3 separate regions of the Homo sapiens genome follow, and all the other regions are linked to region 3. The links are contacts of gene promoters, found by promoter capture Hi-C in human tissues and cell types (Jung and others, 2019). All regions are on one chromosome and are shown on one strand. The core of a region is centred on a gene start or on the middle of the fragment in contact, and the rest is flanking DNA. Distances in the headings are between cores, read along the strand shown.

Region 1 (3,121 bases), core at 396-2,895, 33 kb before region 3:
AAGGAGATGTGAGTTCATTATGTGAACCCAGCCCCTGGACACTGAAGATTCCTGACAGTGCACGCCCACCCCAAAGCTCTAACAACCGGAGCGGTCACTGCAGCTGCCCAGATGGACAGCCAGGAAATCTCCCGCAGGCCTGCGCCGGGGAGATAGTGGCCTGGCCTAGACATGAGCCACAAGAGAGGGCCGCTCCCCACCTCCTGGCGAGCACACTGATGCCCACAGTCATGTCCACAAACTTGGCTGCTTAATGACGTTTTTGGAACCCTCCCAGACGCAGGCACTGTCCAGCAGACGGCCCTGCCCATCTGGCTCAGGTTCTCGTCTGGGGAGCAGACCAGGGACAAGCTAACAGAAAGCTTGAGGGTGCAAAGTCAGTGTTGGAGAGGACAGTGCCCATGGCAGAAGGATAAACACAGAGGCAGGCATGGGCCTCTGAGGTCAGGTCTCAGCGCAGATCTCAAGGAAGCAGGGATGAGCCCTGAGGACATCTGGTCAAAAGGTGCCCGGAGGAGGGCACAGTGACTGCCCAGGCCCCAGGCAGAGGCCTGGAGAATGGAAAGGAGCCAGTGGCAGGTGCCTCCTGAGCCGGGAGAGCCACCGACTTGGGAGGGAAAAAGGCCAGGTGACCAGAGCAGGGGGCTCAGGGGCCATCCTGAGCTCTGGATTTCATTCCGCATGTGGGGAGCTTCAGCCACTCCCCAAAACAGGGCTCTGGAGGGAGGAAAGTCTGAGGAAACCCAGCAGGCTGTGGGAGATGGAAGCGGAGGGAGGCAGGGGCTCCCGGCTCCTGCCTCCCCCCGGGCCCACTGGCCTCAGGAACAGGAGAACTCAGATTGATCTGAGCACCGGTGGGGCTCCTTCACCTGACTCTGAAACCCCAGGCAGAGCCACGTGACCCCGGCCGAGTCGCATCCTCTCCTGGATCCTGCTCGGTTTCCTCACCTGTAAAATGGGGCAGCGATGCTTCTAGAGTTCACTGGTGAAGATGAGACGAGGCCCCCCCTCCTGTCCTCTCCCCTTGAGCTACATCGTCTTTTCTTTTTTCTTTTTTTTTTTTTTTTTGAGACAGAGTCTTGCTCCGTCACCCAGGCTAGAGTGCAATGGCCTGATCTCAGCTCACTGCAACCTCTGCCTCCCGGGTTCAAGCAATTCTCCTGCCTCCGCCTCCCAAGTAGCTGGAATTACAGGTGCCCACCACGATGCCCAGCTAATTTTTTTTTTGTATTGTTAGTAGAGACAGGGTTTCACCATGTTGGGCAGCTTGGTCTCGAACCCCTGACCTCAGGTGATCCACCCGCCTCGGCCTCCCAAAGTGCTGGGATTACAGGCATGAGCCACCGCACCCAGCCCACATCGTCTTTTCAAGACATGAGAACGATCATGTCTCTTCCCTGCCGCGGAGTCACTTCCTGCCAAGGCTGGCCTGGGGGGTGCCCTTTGCTGTTGGTGTCCTCGCCTGCCCAGGAGTCACCATCAGGCCCTTGAAGGCCCCTGCTCTCTCCCATGCTGGGGCTTTGCAAGGAGGAAGTGCTCCTCCCTCCCATGGGAGCTCTCCTGGGCTCATGGGGCCTCGGGTCCCCTGAAAGTCCTCCCTGATGACTGCTGGACCCCCACAATCCTCCTGCATGGCCTTCAACCCCACACCTCCCTCCGGGCCCTTCTGCTGCCACTGTGTGTGCCAATCACATCTGTTTGAGAAAGTCCGTCTCCCTCACAGGCCCCCAAAGCTCCAGAAGCCCGGAAACCTTGCCTGATGGGGTTCAGCTCTTTCCTTCCTGAGCCTAGTCCAGCCTCACAGCTGCGTGTGCCCCTCAGGCAGAGACAGGGCTACCTAGTTCATGGGAGCCCTAGATTAGATGAGATGACCACAGGGAAGGCCCCGATACAGTGCCTGGCACACAACTCATCAGTCATTTTCCTTTCAATTCCAAGCCGCTCTAAACATGGGTTGACTTTACGAAGGGACAGAGGAAAGGTGAGAGGGGGAGGAAGGAGGGAGGGAGGAGAGGGAAAAGGCCTGGGCAGGCAGGTGGGCAGGAGTGTAAGACGCTCAGTGCCATGCGTTGCCTGCAATTGACAGTAAGCAATGCTGCTAACCTTCATGACTGTTTAGGACAGTGGATGGGTCTTTTCCAGTGAGCCCATTCCAGGCTTCACATCATGCCCGGAGTCTCTAGGACTTAAAGCCCCAGCAGGGGCCAAAAAAATCTAGCCTCATCAAGAGCCAAGTGACAGAACCCTGGAAACAGTGACATCTGGCGAGACAAGCTCCTGTCCCACCATCCAAGGCGCCCAGATGAAGAGAAGACCATGGGCCATGCTGGCCTGCAATCCAGAAAAACAAAGGAGAGAGAAAGCTGAGAAGGATCTGGAGGAGCACAGGCCACCCAGCCGCCCGGTGAGGATGGCCACACCTCCAGCAACCCTTGACTGAGCCAGGGAAATGTCCCCTAAACATCTGTAGGGATGGGAAACGCTTCCGGGCTTTGGTGGGTGACACTCACGGATGCTGAGACACCCATAGCAAACCCTGTGAAAACCACCCATAGCTCCTCACTCTGCCTTTCGCTGCAAAGGTCCAGCTACTCTCTCGGGGGCACACCCTCCTCTCAACAGCAAATCCCACAGGAGTGACAGGTGAGAGTTTCTCCATGTGGAATGCGACCCAGCAGAGCCAGCCTACACCCTTTCGTGAGCCCCGAAAATCAGAGAGAGGTCTCAGTTAATTTAGAAAATGTATTTTGCCAAGCTTGAGGATGCATGGCTGCGACACAGCCTCAGGAGGTCCTGGTGACATGTGCCCAGGGTGGTCAGAGCAGTTTGGTTTTACACATTCTATACATTCAAAGCCAAGGTGGGAAGACTGGAAGCAGGAGGGGGCTTCCAGGTCATGGTAGATAAGAGAGGAATGGTTGCATTCTTTGAGTTCCTGATGAGCCTCTCCAAAGGAGGCAATCAGACATGCACTTAACTCAGTGAGCACAGAGGTGATTTTGAATAGAATGGGAGGCAGGTTGGCCCTAAGCCATTCCCAGCTTGACTTTTCCCTTTAGCTTGGTAATCAATCAACATATGCAAGATGAACCTTGGTTTGGTCTGGAAACGAGGGACAACC
Region 2 (3,152 bases), core at 528-3,027, 47 kb after region 3:
GGTCAGGAGTTCGAGACCAGCTTGGTCAACATGGTGAAACCCTGTCTACTAAAACTACAAAAATTAGCCAGGCATAGTGGTGTGTGCCTGTAATCCCAGCTACTTGACAGGCTGAGGCAGGAGAATCACTTGAACCCAGGAGGCAGAGGTTGCAGTGAGCTGAGATCGTGCCAGTATACTCCAGCCTGGATGACAGAACAAGACTCTGTCTCAAAAATAAATAAATAAATAAATAAATAAATAAATAAATGAATAACTATATTGCCCTTCGGAGTACAGGCCCTGGTTAGCCCAGCCTGTCGTCCTTGTGCCTGGGCAAGCAGCAATGCCAGGTGCATCCTCCAGCCTGTCCGAAGAGGAGGTTTTGACCAAGGAAGAGAATTTCCCCCAAAAGTAAAGACAGTAAAACATTTGGCAAGCGATCCTGTGTGCCACAAGGGGGCCCCGGGTTTGAGGATTTTCCTCATCTCTTTGTGTTCTCCATGACAGAAATTATCATTTTATACCTAGTAATAAGGTTGTTGGAGTGTGTGCACATTGGAAAATTTCGAGCAGAGAAAACAAGGGGCGCTTCTCTTAATTAAGGAAGTGAGACTCTGCCTCGTGTGAGTTGGCTCCCGCAGGCGGTGAAACTGCCTCTTGGCTAAATGGAGTCCTGGTGGCCGGGAGCTGACCACTGGGTCTGGCTGAGGACGCAGCTCCAGGCCGGGACATTGTCGCTCCCTGCTCCGGCTCTCAGGGCCTGCCTGTCTCAGCAGCTCCACCTCCTGAAGGCAGGCGATTATCTGTTCATGTGGTCCGCACGCTGACGAGATTGTCTTTTGAAGCTGAGAGGGAGAAGCACTTGGCAGAGCTCCCCGAAGCAGATAACGTCCCTTCCATTAAGTAATGATTGCACTATCAGAGCTCAGAAGCTTGTCAACATATCACAACGACAATAGCACTGTAGCATCTGCCTAAAGACAGTCCGTGGTCATCCATGGCTCCCTTGAAGGCTATGGCAGAAACGCTGTCAGGCTGGCCAGGTGCCGTGGCTCATGCCTGTAATCCCAGCAGTTTGGGAGGCTGAGGCGGGTGGATCACCTGAGGTCAGGAGTTTGAGACCAGCCTGGCCAACATTGCAAAACTCCGTCTCTACCAAAAATACAAAAAAATTACCCCAGCATGGTGGTGCGCACCTGTAATTCCAGCTACTCAGGAGGCTGAGGCAGGAGAATTGCTTGAACCTAGGGGGTAGAGGTTGCAGTGAGCTGAGATCATACCATCTCCAGACTGGTCAAAAAAGCAAAACTCTGTCTCAAAAAAAAAAACAAAAAAAAATTGGTAGGCTGAGGTGGGCAGGTGACAAAGTTAGGAGTTCAAGACCAGCTTGGCCAACAAGGTGAAACCCCATGTCTACTAAAAATACAAAAATTAGCCAGGTGTGGTGGTGGGTGCCTGTAATCCCAGCTACTCAGGAGGCTGAGGCAGAAGAAGTGCTTGAACCCGGGAGGCGGAGGTTGCAGTGAGCTGAGATCGCACCACTGCATAACAGCCTGGGTGACAGAGCAAGACTCTGTCTCGGGAAAAAAAAATGCTTTCAGGCTCAGCAGCCGCCAGCTATGTCTTGTGGCTCATGGGCACCATGGACCTGGCAGCCCACTCCCAATCTCTGAGTCCGAAGATGTGTGATGCCTGCGTGTGCACTTGCACGTCTGTCTGCACATGCATGCATTTTGTGTTTGTGCAACTGTGTATCTGTGTGTGTGTGCATGCTCATCCGTTCTAACAGGGACCCGCTGTGGGGAGATGATCTAAGTAAGCGTATTAAGGACCAGAAATAGAAGCTCCAAGCTTCTGATGACAAGGGCTATGGCTTTCCTGCCAAGATAGCTCAGATGCTGGCACATGGTGAGTCTTCAATAACGGCTGAAAGTGAATAAAATGGCGACTGTGTGGTGAGGAAACAGTTAATACAACCAGAGCAAGGTTTTTTTTTCACTGAAGACTAAATGAGGCCACCTTTTCATGTGCAACTCACCAGGTGAGAGGGAAACCCCTCCCCACACTGCTCTTCCTGCCCTCTGAGCCAACTGATATCCTGGGATAAGAACTCCATCCGCGCCACCCTCAGAGCCCCACTTAGGAAGGCGTCTGTTCGTGTCTGAGCTGACTACATTTTGAGGCAGATAGGCAGACTCGCTCTTGGAAGTGTGGCTATCTTCCAGTCTGTCACATTGCTGAAAAGTATCAAGCAGAACTATTCATGAACAATGTGAGACAGTAAAAGAGGAAACCAAAAACAACTTCAGCAGAAATGTCTGTTTAATTAAAATTAAATTCTAGTGCCTGTATAATATGTATATCCCATTTAAAACAAATCCAACATAAAATCCTGTTAATGTACATAAACAATAAATTAGTGAGTAGTCATTTGCATCATACGATTTTTCTTCTCTTTGTAAAAAAGCTTTCATTCATTTATTTGTTGCACAAACATTCCTGGGCATAAACTGAGCTTCTAACAATAATTGAGACAGACACAGCACCTGCCCTCATGGAGCCCATGCTAGAGAGAGGGAGGCAGTGAGGGGGTTCACAGAATGTGAGGCTGATGGTGTGACCAGCCAGAGCTGCATTCAAGCAACAGCAGAAGCCAAAGGAGGCAGATGGAGGAGCAGCTTGGGGGGTATGAGAGGAAAAGGGCACTTCTTGGCTCCAGCACTCAGGAAAGGATATCTATAATGCTCCAGCCAGGTGTCTCTGTCACCACAGGTGACGTTATGCTGCAGTAACAAAAATCTCCCAAACCTCAGGGCTTTAAAAACTAAGCTGAATTTCTCACTCACACAAGGACTGCCATGGGTCTGGGAGCTCCCCAAGACAAGTGTCCTCCAGGTGGAGACAGCAGCCAGGGACAAAGGCCGGACCTTCTAGAGTCTGCACAGTCTGGATGCTCAGCTTCCTGGTTGGCTAGAAGTTCTCATGCTGATAATTAAATGCTTGGCCTGCTGGTGACACATGTCAACCCTGCCCCCAACCCACTGGACTGAGGAAGTCATATAGCCCTTCTGACGCTGAGCAGTCAGCGGAGGGAGACTATTTATTTGCTGGGAAGGAGGCAAGAACTGGGCGTTGTTGAGTAGCCGTCACAGCGCCCATGCTGGTGCATT
Region 3 (3,171 bases), core at 6-2,505:
TAACATAACACCCGTTTGAATATGCTAATGAGGTCAATCCTTGGAATAAAATGCACGCTATTCCCTGATTTAAATGCATCTGCATAGTTAGCTGACAATGAATCTTGCCCAAACCAGCCCGCCTAGCTCTGCTGCACCATTTATCAAAGGTTCAGTCACTTTTTCTTTTTAATCCCATGTCTTAAAAGCCAAACTCTAGTTCTAAAGTGCAGTGTGGCATTAGCGAATGTGGTGGACTCCGGCAGGCCTGGGGCAGGGGAATCTCCGGTAACATCCCTCAGTACCGAAGGCAGGATTTCCCGGCCACTTCCGTCGGTTGGAATTCTCTTAAGCATTGCCCTGAGTCTATTTTCAAATGAAAGGGGGAAAAACCCAAACCAGATTAGAATCTGAAACAGCTGAAACAGCTATCGATTTCCAGCTTGCTTTCAAGTCTGGCAGAGACTGTGAAAGTCCTAACTTCTCCGCGATGTCAGCCACGGCCCGCGGCGGTCACGGAGCCACTTCAGCACCTCGCGATGGACAGTGACCCCCGGCGTGGCGCGAGTTCCCTGCGGTCCCCACGCGGGCCTGGGCGGCGGGTCCCTCCACGGCTCCGTCCAGACACCCGGAGGCACCTGCCAAAGCTGCGGAGGTGGACGACCGGGCGTCCAAGCACGAACTTTCTCGCCGAGGCACGGCTGCCGGGCTCCGTCCTGAGGGTTTGGGGCGGCGAGGACCGCCGGGGAGGAGGGCGCGCGAGCCGGAGGCCAGAGCCGGGCCGGGCAGGGCGCGCCCAGGAGCAGGGGAGACGGCGACCCGGGCCGAGGCGGGACGGGGACACGTTACCTGCCCGTGGAGCGCGGGGAAGGGGTGCGCGGCGGCGGCGGCGGCGGAGTCTGGCGCAGAGGGCAGCGGCAGCAGCGGGAGCACCGGCTCGCTCGGGGCCGGCCAGCCGGGGAGACCGGGGAGCAGCGGGGCCGCGGGCGGCGGGGCCGAGGCGAGCAGCACCGGGGGAACCACGACCCCCGCGCTGAGCCGGAGCAGCCCGGCCGAGCCCGGCACCATCCAGACCCAGGGCGGCGGCGGCGGCGGCTCTGCGTCCATCGGCCAGAGGAGAGGCTGCCGCCGCCGGGGCTGCTGCTGCTGCAGCTGCCGCCGCCGCCGCTGGAACCTGGCGCCCGCCTGCATCCTACATCCCCGCGCTGACGGCGGCGGCGGGGGCGGCGGGCGCCCGAGATGCTGGGCCGGCGGCGGCGCGGCTCCGGAGCGAACTCACTTGGCTCCGCGGCGCGGCCGCTCGCTCCGCCCCTGCCCCGCGCGGGAAGCTCCTCCTCCTCCCGCCCGCGCCGCCGCCGCCCCCGGACCCGGCCCCCGCCCCGGTCCCCGCCCGCCCGCGCCCCTCCCCGCCGGACCCCGCCCCGCCCTCGCGCTCCCCGGCCCTGGCCGGGGTCTCCTCCCCGCTGCGCCCCTGGACCCGGGCGGCCGCGGAGGACGTGGGTGGGAGAGGGCCGAGGGCGCGCCCGGCTGGGCTCCCGCCGATGCCGGCCCCCTGGTGGCCTCTGGCCCTCTGGGACCCAGCGCACCGCGAGGGAGGCTCCGGGCTCCGCACTCAAGGGCAAGCGGAAGCCGAGGTGGCGGCGCCGGAGCCAGGCATGTCCCGCTGCCCAGCGCGGGGCTGAGGGCGCAGACGGGGACCGCGCGAGCCGCTCTCTACCTGGCCTCCTCGGAGTCCAGGGCGCGGAGGGTACTGGGCTGCGGATCCGGCGCAGGCGGCCCCGGACGCTGCTAGGCGCGGGCGGATTTCTGTTGCACAAATGGGCCAAACAGGTTCGTAAGGCCCCCGCGGGTCCCCTGGCCCGGAAGTTGAGCCGCGGGTGCCTGGTCTGAAGTTCCGCGCCCCACAGTGGCCCGCGGGCCTCGGCGGCTCCTGCCCTACGCCCTCCAAGGCACCAGGCAGGTGGCCCCAGGGCCTTTGCCCACGACACCCCCTGGGTGGGGCAGGACCACCCCTCTGTGAATTCGTCCTGGATGCCCCCAGGCACAGTCTGTACTCCTCCCTCCCCCAGCACACGCGGCCTCTGACGCTGCACGCCGAGCTTCCTGGGACCCAGGACGAACCGGGCTCCAAGGACCCTCGCTCCGCCCGGACCACACGCAGGCAGCGCCGGCCGAGCCGAGCCTGGGTCCGCACTGGCCACGCGCAGCCACCGCCAGACGGCGCTAGCCCTCCCCCGCTGTAGACCCTGCTTCGGAGGCCGCCAGCCTCCTCCCCATCCCGGGTCCACAGCTTCAGTGCAGCCCCTGGCGACGCGCGCTGACAGCTGGGCAGAGACTTCCGTGCGCTGTAAACCCCTTAGGTCGCTAAACCCAGGAAACCCAAGCACAGCTAATGCCAGCGCGAGACCAGTGTTGTTAGAGGCATTTGAAGGGTCTTTCTGGATGCAAAAGGCAGCATTATGATCCATGCATTTAAGAACTTGCATGAAAAACCCTCCCTGACCTGGGTGGGAGAGCAGGCACCCACCCACCCAGCGGCACTGACACGCCTGGTACTCCAAACCCGTGTTCGCATCACCTCCCACCTGTCCACTGCCAACCTCCTGAGATGGCCTAAAGCACCCGAGTGCTTTTAATTTGCGTCTAGGGTTGTTTCCTCATTATCCTGATTTGCTTAATTTCCTCTTGGCCTGGCCTGATTTCTTTTAGATCTGGGCATATGCTGATTTACATAGCTGGCGCCTCCATATTTTCCTCCACGAAAACCAGTTTTCAATTAGCAAGTTTATCTCTCTCTTTGATGCAAAAGTACTGGCATTTTTTTTATTCACCTAAAATCAGAAAGCTCTGCACATTAGAAGGCTGTTACTATTCACTTACACCCTTAATTTATGTGCATATATTAGTATGTGCACATGTGTTATAAATGTGTTAGTTTAATGGTCAGAGCCAGATCAGGATATTGGGGAGGCGTCTCCAGGCAGGCTCACATGCCCCTGCCACCCCCCACCTCCCCCACCGCATAGTCCCTTTTGCACAGGAGATTCTCCTTCCTTCTGCTTGGAGGCAGAGACAGAAGGCCAGGGGTGCTCGTGCCTGGCTTGCATGCTGTTCTCTGCAAAAGCAGGGTTTTGCGTGTGTGGCCCCCAGGTTCCTGGGAAGGTAGGGTTGGCCACAGTCTGTGGGAGCTGT

Evidence for each region. Contacts are between HindIII fragments. The study calls those that stand out against the background at their distance.
Region 1: a fragment that was not itself captured here is called in contact with the fragment with the promoter of TCERG1L in region 3 in 2 of the 25 tissues and cell types used here (dorsolateral prefrontal cortex and thymus).
Region 2: a fragment that was not itself captured here is called in contact with the fragment with the promoter of TCERG1L in region 3 in 2 of the 25 tissues and cell types used here (bladder and dorsolateral prefrontal cortex).

Annotation. Positions count from the first base shown.
Region 1 is chr10:131,277,288-131,280,408 of GRCh38, forward strand. All of the region lies in intron 3 of TCERG1L (transcription elongation regulator 1 like), which reads right to left. Among named protein-coding and RNA genes, the nearest start is that of TCERG1L, 33 kb to the right of the region's middle. RefSeq lists enhancers at 70-585, 1,985-2,628, 2,629-3,121. The HindIII fragment of the contact is 5,518 bases long and covers 1-3,121 here.
Region 2 is chr10:131,357,089-131,360,240 of GRCh38, forward strand. No RefSeq gene overlaps it. Among named protein-coding and RNA genes, the nearest start is that of TCERG1L, 47 kb to the left of the region's middle. The HindIII fragment of the contact is 3,640 bases long and covers 1-3,152 here.
Region 3 is chr10:131,310,466-131,313,636 of GRCh38, forward strand. TCERG1L (transcription elongation regulator 1 like) reads right to left here and starts at 1,256. Exons shown (of 12, transcript NM_174937.4): 1 at 829-1,256. The coding sequence starts at 1,170. It overlaps LOC101927461 (a long non-coding RNA gene), which reads left to right and starts at 1,391. Exons shown (of 3, transcript XR_242763.6): 1 at 1,391-1,809. The HindIII fragment of the contact is 8,672 bases long and covers 1-3,171 here.